Regions from separate parts of the Homo sapiens genome. Here all the other regions are linked to region 3. Evidence: promoter capture Hi-C in 16 types of primary human blood cells and fetal thymus (Javierre and others, 2016). All regions are on one chromosome and are shown on one strand. Each heading gives the region's core, a stretch centred on a gene start or on the middle of the fragment in contact. The rest is flanking DNA. Distances are from core to core; before and after follow the strand shown. Region 1 overlaps PLUT (PDX1 associated lncRNA, upregulator of transcription). Region 2 overlaps PLUT (PDX1 associated lncRNA, upregulator of transcription). Region 3 holds the start of CDX2 (caudal type homeobox 2).

The links. The method cuts DNA at HindIII sites, captures the fragments that hold promoters and counts their contacts. A CHiCAGO score of 5 or more calls a contact.
Region 1: a fragment that was not itself captured here is called in contact with the fragment with the promoter of CDX2 in region 3 in 1 of 17 cell types (M2 macrophages); the score reaches 6.0 in M2 macrophages.
Region 2: a fragment that was not itself captured here is called in contact with the fragment with the promoter of CDX2 in region 3 in 1 of 17 cell types (total B cells); the score reaches 5.7 in total B cells.

The regions. Positions count from the first base shown.
Region 1 is chr13:27,839,636-27,842,335 of GRCh38, reverse strand. All of the region lies in intron 2 of PLUT (PDX1 associated lncRNA, upregulator of transcription), which reads left to right. Among named protein-coding and RNA genes, the nearest start is that of GSX1, 49 kb to the right of the region's middle. The HindIII fragment of the contact is 7,230 bases long and covers 1-2,700 here.
Region 2 is chr13:27,823,145-27,826,081 of GRCh38, reverse strand. All of the region lies in intron 3 of PLUT (PDX1 associated lncRNA, upregulator of transcription), which reads left to right. Among named protein-coding and RNA genes, the nearest start is that of GSX1, 32 kb to the right of the region's middle. RefSeq lists an enhancer at 2,683-2,937. The HindIII fragment of the contact is 4,198 bases long and covers 1-2,937 here.
Region 3 is chr13:27,967,743-27,970,755 of GRCh38, reverse strand. CDX2 (caudal type homeobox 2) reads left to right here and starts at 1,441. Exons shown (of 3, transcript NM_001265.6): 1 at 1,441-2,290. The coding sequence starts at 1,750. RefSeq lists an enhancer at 1,515-2,206. The HindIII fragment of the contact is 4,126 bases long and covers 1-3,013 here.

The DNA.
Region 1 (2,700 bases), core at 183-2,682, 130 kb after region 3:
GGCTCAGCTTCTTTCTCTTGCATGTGGATATCCAGTTGTCCCAGCACAGCTAATTGAAAAGACATTTTTCTCATTAAATTGTCTTGGCACTCTTGTCAAACTTCATTCTCTTTGCTAATTTTCTCAGTTCTGTGTTCTTTTTCTGCTCTTATCTTTATTATTCCCTTTCTTCTAGTTACTTTGGGCTCACTTTGCTCTTCTTTTTCTAGTTTCTTATTGTGGACTCTTAAGTCTCTGTTTTTGTACACCCTCCCACCACCTGACCCAGTATAAGCACTTAAAGGTATAACTTTCTCTCTAACCACTGTTTGCTTACATTCCACAAATTTTTACCTTTTTCATTATCATTTAGTTCCAAGTATTTTCTAATTGCCGTCATGATTTCTTCTTTGACCTATTGATTCTCTAGAAGTGAATTGTTTCATTTCCAAATATTTGGTGTCTACTTATCTTATTGTTTTTAATTTCTATGTAATTCTGTTTTAATCAGAGAATAGGCTCTATAAAATATAAATCCTCTTCAATTTATTGAACCTTGTTTTATGGTCCAGCATATGGTCTATTTTGGTCAACAAACCACATGTGCTTGAAGAGAATGTGTATTCTGCAGTTGTAACTGGTAGATATAGATTCTATAAATAGCAATTATATAAAAGTGGTTAATAGTGTTGTTCAGTCCATCTATCTTTTTCTTGATTTTTTTCTAGCAGCCCTATCCTAAGATATTCATATTCATATTCATCTATGATTGTGGATTATTTCTGTCAATTTTTTCCTCAGGGATATTTAAGCTCTGTTACAAGACACACACCCTCATAGGATTCTTTGTCTTCTTAGTATATTAATGCCTTTATCCTTATAAAAGATCCTTCTTTGGTAATTTTTTTTCTCAAAGTCCATTTTGTCTGATAACTAGATAGTGTGGGGTGGGGGAAAGGGAGAGGGTCAACAGAGCACCCTTCATCCCCACTGAGCGTAGAACCAACTGAGAGGTAAACCTAGCTGTGGGCAGATGGAGATTAAATGTCAGCGTTCGTGCTGATGAAGCCAATCAGAGGCTGTGGCCCTAGATTTGTGTCCAGATGGGCCTGTTAATACTTCCCTCAAAATTAGGTGGCCTTGCACATCCGGTCACTGGCCCAGATGGACAATAGTCAGCCTTTTCCTTTCACCCTCATCCAGGGCAGACAGCAGAAGGCAGAGGGCAGGTAGGTGGATGGACTTCTGAGGCAGAGTGAGGGGCCCAGAGGAGCCTGCCCAATTCTTCCTCTAAAGACCACCAGTAAGTGAAATGAAGAGGCCAGGGGCTGAGGGAATATTCTAGAGAGGGTTTCCACATAGAAACAAGGAGAATGTGCCCCTTCTAAAAGGTCTCTACAGCTATGAGAGCATGTGAGCTTACCCAAGAAGAGTGAAGGGTGAGGAAGGAGAGGACCTGGACCGAGCACTGGGGGCCACCAGCATTCAGAGGCTGGGCTGCGGAGGAAGGTCCCCTGAAGGATATGGAGAAGGGGTCCCCAGGGATGTCATGGAAGCAAAGGAAGGCATTTCAAGGCGGCATTGCCAGCTGCCAAGAGGCTGAGAAAGTTGAGATCCCCTCATGAAAGCCCAGGCTTGTCCACTGGGGTAGAATTTTGGCAAAGAATCTTTCAAGCCACACACTGAGCACACTTCTGACTTCCCCAATTATGGTAGAAAGGAGAATTATTTACCCTGACCTGGGAGGAAGATTTATAGGTTTATAGGCCCTTAAAGTCACAGTACTCAGACTCTGTTTTCCTAATGGTGAATGGCAAAGAAAACAGCGTTCAAAAATAAACGCCGGTAAACGTGGAAGGCTAGACTCCTTCCTGTGGCTTATTTTAACTTTCATATAAGAAAACATAATCGTTGATTACCTTGGCAATATACCATGCCTTATCAAAGGGCTTTAAAGCACTCTCATTAATCCTTTCAATATACTTGGATAAGAGGTGAAAACAAATATGTGTATTTTGGCCTCATCCTAGAGAAAAAGGAGAGAGTTGGAGAGAAGTCGAGGGCTTTTCTCCCAAAATCCTGGGGGATGACGTGGCATCAGCCGTGGCCTATAGTGCACAGGCCAGAAACTGCCCCCTGCAGCTAAAGCACTGGAACAGAAACGAAGAAGATTCATGACTCAGCTGAAGAGAAGTGAAAAGGTGAGCAATTATATAATGAACAGAATATGCGTCATAGAGTCCTCAAATAACAAACTCACATTTCAAACTCTTTCAGGGCAGAAATAATATTTTACCATTCTTTTCATTGTTGACAGTCCCTAGTACAGGCTAAGACCTCAGCAAATATTTCCTTCCTGGCTGATGACACAGGTTGTCTCTCTGTGTGTATGGGAAGAGTATAGAGGGATGTGAATCTTATTCAGTATATAGAATAAGTAGTTTTCTAAGATTTTGTCCATGGAAGTGATGCAATCAGCTCAAATTTGACCAAAATGGTCTAGGCCCGCTGTGGGTTTTCGGAAGGAAACCTAGTAGAAATGAGTGAGATGAGCTTAAAGTATAAAGGAGCTGAGAGCAAACAAAATAAAAGGCTGGAGTCTGTTTACTGCAAAATTGTCTGTTTTTGCATGAAAGTGTATTTTGGGGCACCCATTTGTGCACTCACCCAACAAATATTTATTGAGCACCTATTATTATATGTCATCGTGCTGGGTGCTTG
Region 2 (2,937 bases), core at 375-2,874, 140 kb after region 3:
TCCATCGTGACCCTGCTGCTGGTGCCCTCCTTCACTCTTCCTGTGAGTCTCATTCTCTAGGCAAAGGGGACTGTACTTAGAGAGGAGTGAGTTACCCAGGAGCTCACCAATCTCTCTTCCTTCCTCCTCCTTTCTCTCCTGGGCAGGGTGTGGTGGGCATTGGGGTTAAGAACTATTCCTACAGAAGCTCCAGGTTAGCCTTTCCCATGGTGGCATCAACCTGGAGTCCCCGCCAGCCCAGGCATAGGATGTCCATTGATCCCAGTGCCAGCGGGCCCTTGCCTCCCTGGAAACTCACTGGCCTCCTAAGACAGCCCAGACAATCTGTGCCATGGAAGGCCACAGGTGCTGTATTCCATGAGGCTGGCAACAATAATCCCAAATGGTACCAGGTGACCTTTGCCTCATGGCCTAGGGAGGCTTTTACTGCTGCACTTGAGACCAGGCTTGGGGAGTGAGTGAGGAGAGGTGGCCTGAGGCTGGGATGCCCTTACCTCTCCATCTAATTGAGAACGCTGAATGGCTTTCTCTTTTTTTCTCCCTTCTCCTTCAATAGAGTCCAACAATTTAGCAAGCTCACCAAGCTGTGTCCTGCTTCATGACTAATTCACATATTTAAATGGGATCGGTCAAAGCAGAACTATTTGATGCCAGCCAAGCGCATTTATCAGGTCAAACTGCTCACAAAGGCTAGAGGCCAGCGTGGGTATGTGGGTGTGTATGGAGTGAATGTGTGGGATCTTTATTTATTTTTAGTCTCAGATTTCAAAAGCAAGGGACCACATCAGAAGCTGCCATTGCTCCCGGGTCCCTCCCAGAGCCTGGCTTGCTCCTGGCCCTGCCTCCCTGTCCTGAACCTCTCCCCCTCCCCCAGCCCTGAGCTGTGTGTCTCTGATGGGGCTTCAGAGAATGAATCTACTCAATTACAGCCCTTTTCACGTGACTGAGCAGTTTCAAAGATGCCACTTTTTATTATTTGGTGACCCCTGACATTGCAGGTGCAGATTTAATGGTGGAAAAGTTGAAATTAGCCAAAATGAACTTTTCCCTCCAATCCCAGCATGGAGAGACGTTCCAGGCTGTTCTAGCTGGAACTGCCATTACTTTGCTGAGTATGTAAGTTATCAAAGTGTTAGGTTTAGCTTAGGGCCAACTGCAGCCCCCATACCCACACCCACCCCAGCTGGATGGGTTCCAGGGCCAGGGGAGGAAAGAGTTAAACAGGCGTAGTGGCTATAATCCCCTTTAACAAAGGAAACTCAGTCTCCTATTTCCCTTTTGGGGTGTCCTCTGCATCAATCCTACAGTGAATGTGTGGCATTGGTCCCCAAGGGTAGCGTCAGGTTCAAGTAAAATGAGCAAACCAAAGTTCATGGCTTCCAGGCTGATAAATGTTGCCGCTACAAGGTCATGATTGATCAGCACACACTGTCGAGATGGATTTCGTGACTGGATGGCTCTCCACAATCAACACCCCTAGCCAGTGACCCATGCGTGTCCACATTTGGGTTTTGTCAGTCGAGCCGCCTCTGCTCTCCCAGCTCAGCCTTTTCAAGCCAACCCATGGCTGGCTTCTCTGGTTCTATTCTGCATCTTTCACTGGAGTCCAGGGAAATAAAGGGCATCTTTTTGTATACATCAAAATGAAGAGTAAACAGTTTTGCATCACCGGGCCTGGGTACCTTTGATGCTGGATTACATTTATGAGCTAAGACATGGCATACTTCAAAGGAAGCCATTCATTCAAGCGACAAGCCAGAGGCTGTGCAAAGACATAGGTCCCTTTCATAAATTACTTGCTTTTTATTTACCAGAAACTCCGGGTATCAGTTCAGTTGCACCTCAGTTGCCTATGCACAAAAAAAAAGCACTGTGGTAACTCAGGAAAAAAAAATGCAGGGTGGAGGAGTGTGATAGAAAGGACCATTAATAGGAAGCAGGCTCTGGGATATCTGTCTTGTAGCTGTGGCGGCTGCCAGAAGCTGAAATCAAACAAAGAATAAAAATCCAGAAGCCTTCCTTTCCCCTCACTTTTTTTGGGGGAAGAGTTGGACGGGGTTGGGGGATAAAAAGAAAAGGAGAGAATCCCTAAGGGTAAACCAGTTGAATGAATATAAATGTCTGAGATTCCCAGGGCTTGGGGGTGGGCACTGGTATGGGGGTGTCCCGTACAGCAGCCCTATGAGACTGGGGGAAGAGGTGGTAAAAATATCCAGATTCCATAGATGAAGCACAATGTAGAAATGTGGGTGTGTCTCCCTTCACTTCTCAAAATCCCTGTGAGTACTTTACTTTTTAAAATTAGGGGCCAGAAAGAGAAAGACTCAGGACTTAATGAACCTCATCAGAGGGGAGTCTCTGCTGTCCTGGAAAAAGCCAGACCCACTGGAGGTCTTGTTTGTTTGCCTGTGTTATGTGGGCTCTCTCTGAGCCACCGAGCTAATGGGAACTGAGGGCAGGAGCAGGGCAGCAGCAAGCACTTTTGGGTTTTGGAGACTAATCACCCCTCCCCATCTCCCCAGGCCCCAGTTGCCCCAGAATCTCCAATGGGCCTTGAGGCAGAGAGTCGGACAAAGCCACTTCTATACGTGCCCCTTTTAAAGCCTTGATCCAGAGGGGACTGGGGGGAGGAGGGGATTTTTTCCAAAACAAAACAAAAAAAGTCGGTGGCTTTCTGCTTTGGAGAGGCCAAACAGGTCCTTTAAAAAGAAAAAAAAAAAAAAACTATATCTCTGAAAAAGTGCAAAGAAATTCTGTTTCCCCGCCAGGGCCAAGGGCTGAGTTTGTGAGTTGCTTGTTTTTCTCTGTCTATTTTCAAGTATTTGGGAGGAGAAGTGTGTGCAGGGCGAAGGCGGCCACGCGAGCCCGGAGCAGCTTTCATTGAGAAGCCACGTGTCCGTCTCCAAAGGACCCTCCAACTTAACCAGCGTCATTGTC
Region 3 (3,013 bases), core at 192-2,691:
GGCGATGGTGACAAATATCCGAGCGAAACGCTTGACAATGAGAACAGACAAGTGCAGGTCTCCAGGAGTGCCGCGAGCGCCCGCGGGTTCTGAGAGCGCTCAAAGCCGCCGAGTCAGGCTGCCCAGCCCGCCGGGCCTCGCCGCAGTGATCCTCATTCCCGAATCTGGCAGCGCTGTCAAAGGCTTGTATTAGGAGGTGAACGGCGGCCGCAGGCCCACTCCACGCGGTTGCTGAAACCGAGCTGGGCGCGCGCGGGGGCCGAATCTCGCCGCCTCCGCGCTCCTGTCGGGGCAGCTCCCGATCCCGGGCTGCGCGGCTTCGGTCCCCAAGACGGCCACTTCCAGCCCTAGGCCCCTTGGCCGCAGCGCTTCCCAAACCAAGAGAGATCCTTTCTCAACTCAGAGCTTTTCATTAGCAGTCGTTAATAATGGCCCTGAGTTGCCTTATCATCTCCTGGAAATGAGAAATAAATTTCTTCGGAGAACGTTTCCCTTTGTAAAGGACAGAGAGTTTTAAAGATACAGGTATGATGTAAGACACATAAATACCTAGGTAAGCATTAGCAGAAATTCTCTTTTCCTTATATTTAAGTATAATAAACATACAAGTGTAGCTCAATGAATTTTCACAAACTGACATTCTGTGTAACCAGCAGCCTAAGAAACTGCTTTACCAACGATCCCCTAGCTCGCCTCCAGTTATGCACGCCAATAACCACTAGCCTAACTTCTACCACATGCCCATTACTTCTGTAGTTTAAAACTTCTGATTCTTGAATGTAAACGTTTAACAATAAATCGCTTGAATTTAACTCAAATTTCAAATGTAAGATGAAGTCAGAGATGCAGCCTGAATCTAGGATCATAATTTGTCTTGTGCGGAGGGCGAGTAATTTCCTTGGGCAAGAAAATAACTGGAGGTGACAGTTGTTTGGGGCTGCAGTCGTCCGGGCCAGGAGCACAGGGCGGGAAGGAATGGCCCATCTCTTAGGGCTCTCTGCTTGTCACCTACCAGGTTGGTCAGAAACGTTCTCATCAAAGCAATGGTTCTCTTTTCTTTTCTCTTTGGGACAGAAGGAGTTTCTTGACCGCCCTCTTCCCTGCAAATGCATAAACAACCACTGCTCCTGTCTCCAAGCTCAGATTCCTACCAAGATAGCCTTTTCTCTTCCCCTCTCTTTTGTAAGTCTCTTGATTTCATTCTTTGAACCTGTGATTGGAGGTTAAAGTGCACCAGGTTGGAAGGAGGAAGCTCTTAACAATAAAGGTTTGAATATTTAGCTGTGTCAGGTCGCTGCCCTCTCACGAGCCTCCCTCCCCTTTATCTTTTAAAATGCAAATTATGTTTCGAGGGGTTGTGCGTAGAGTGCGCGCTGCGCCTCGACGTCTCCAACCATTGGTGTCTGTGTCATTACTAATAGAGTCTTGTAAACACTCGTTAATCACGGAAGGCCGCCGGCCTGGGGCTCCGCACGCCAGCCTGTGGCGGGTCTTCCCCGCCTCTGCAGCCTAGTGGGAAGGAGGTGGGAGGAAAGAAGGAAGAAAGGGAGGGAGGGAGGAGGCAGGCCAGAGGGAGGGACCGCCTCGGAGGCAGAAGAGCCGCGAGGAGCCAGCGGAGCACCGCGGGCTGGGGCGCAGCCACCCGCCGCTCCTCGAGTCCCCTCGCCCCTTTCCCTTCGTGCCCCCCGGCAGCCTCCAGCGTCGGTCCCCAGGCAGCATGGTGAGGTCTGCTCCCGGACCCTCGCCACCATGTACGTGAGCTACCTCCTGGACAAGGACGTGAGCATGTACCCTAGCTCCGTGCGCCACTCTGGCGGCCTCAACCTGGCGCCGCAGAACTTCGTCAGCCCCCCGCAGTACCCGGACTACGGCGGTTACCACGTGGCGGCCGCAGCTGCAGCGGCAGCGAACTTGGACAGCGCGCAGTCCCCGGGGCCATCCTGGCCGGCAGCGTATGGCGCCCCACTCCGGGAGGACTGGAATGGCTACGCGCCCGGAGGCGCCGCGGCCGCCGCCAACGCCGTGGCTCACGGCCTCAACGGTGGCTCCCCGGCCGCAGCCATGGGCTACAGCAGCCCCGCAGACTACCATCCGCACCACCACCCGCATCACCACCCGCACCACCCGGCCGCCGCGCCTTCCTGCGCTTCTGGGCTGCTGCAAACGCTCAACCCCGGCCCTCCTGGGCCCGCCGCCACCGCTGCCGCCGAGCAGCTGTCTCCCGGCGGCCAGCGGCGGAACCTGTGCGAGTGGATGCGGAAGCCGGCGCAGCAGTCCCTCGGCAGCCAAGGTAAGCAGAGGCTGCGCCCCTTCGGAGGGTGCTTGGGAAGGCGCGGGTCGAGCCAGTGGCTGCTGCGCGTCGCGCGTCCAGTGCGCACAGGGGCGTCCCGGGCTGTCTGGGAGCTCGGCGCCAGGAGGGGCACGGCCCGGAGACAAATTCGGGGGCCTCTGGCCCGTCGGGGCTTCTCTGACCTACTGAGCCTGGGAGTGAATATTCTGAGTCTCAACACCGTGTTCAGGCGTCCTCTTTCCAAGAGCTCCTCATTCGCAACCCCGGGACACCTTCGGGAAGCTCCGGGGAATGTCGGCGTGAGCACTGCTGGACGCCGGCAGAATCGCGTCCTCCGGCACTTGCTGCGGCATGCATTCCTTGCGTGGCTCCTGGCCGCCGAGGAGAGAGGGAGGCTCGAACCTTCTTGGGCTAGGTCTAGGCCATTTATCTCCGCTCTCTCTTTCCCCATCTGAGCCATCTAAGAAGAGAAGTGACCTGGGGGGGTCGGAGGATGGCTAGGCTGTGTGTGGGACCGGGTTTGGCCACTCGGGCCAATTCAAGGTACAGCGAGCAGGCAGACCAGGGAGAGCTGCTGTCGCTGGGAAGAAGGTGCTAGCCCCAGCTGCTAAGGCGACGGGGGCGCGCCCCGTCTCTGAACCTCTGACCTGTGAAGGGGTCATTTCAAGCAAAAGCTGGAAGGCTAGGGGCAAGAAGCCTAGGGGCAGGCGTCTGCGGAGAGAG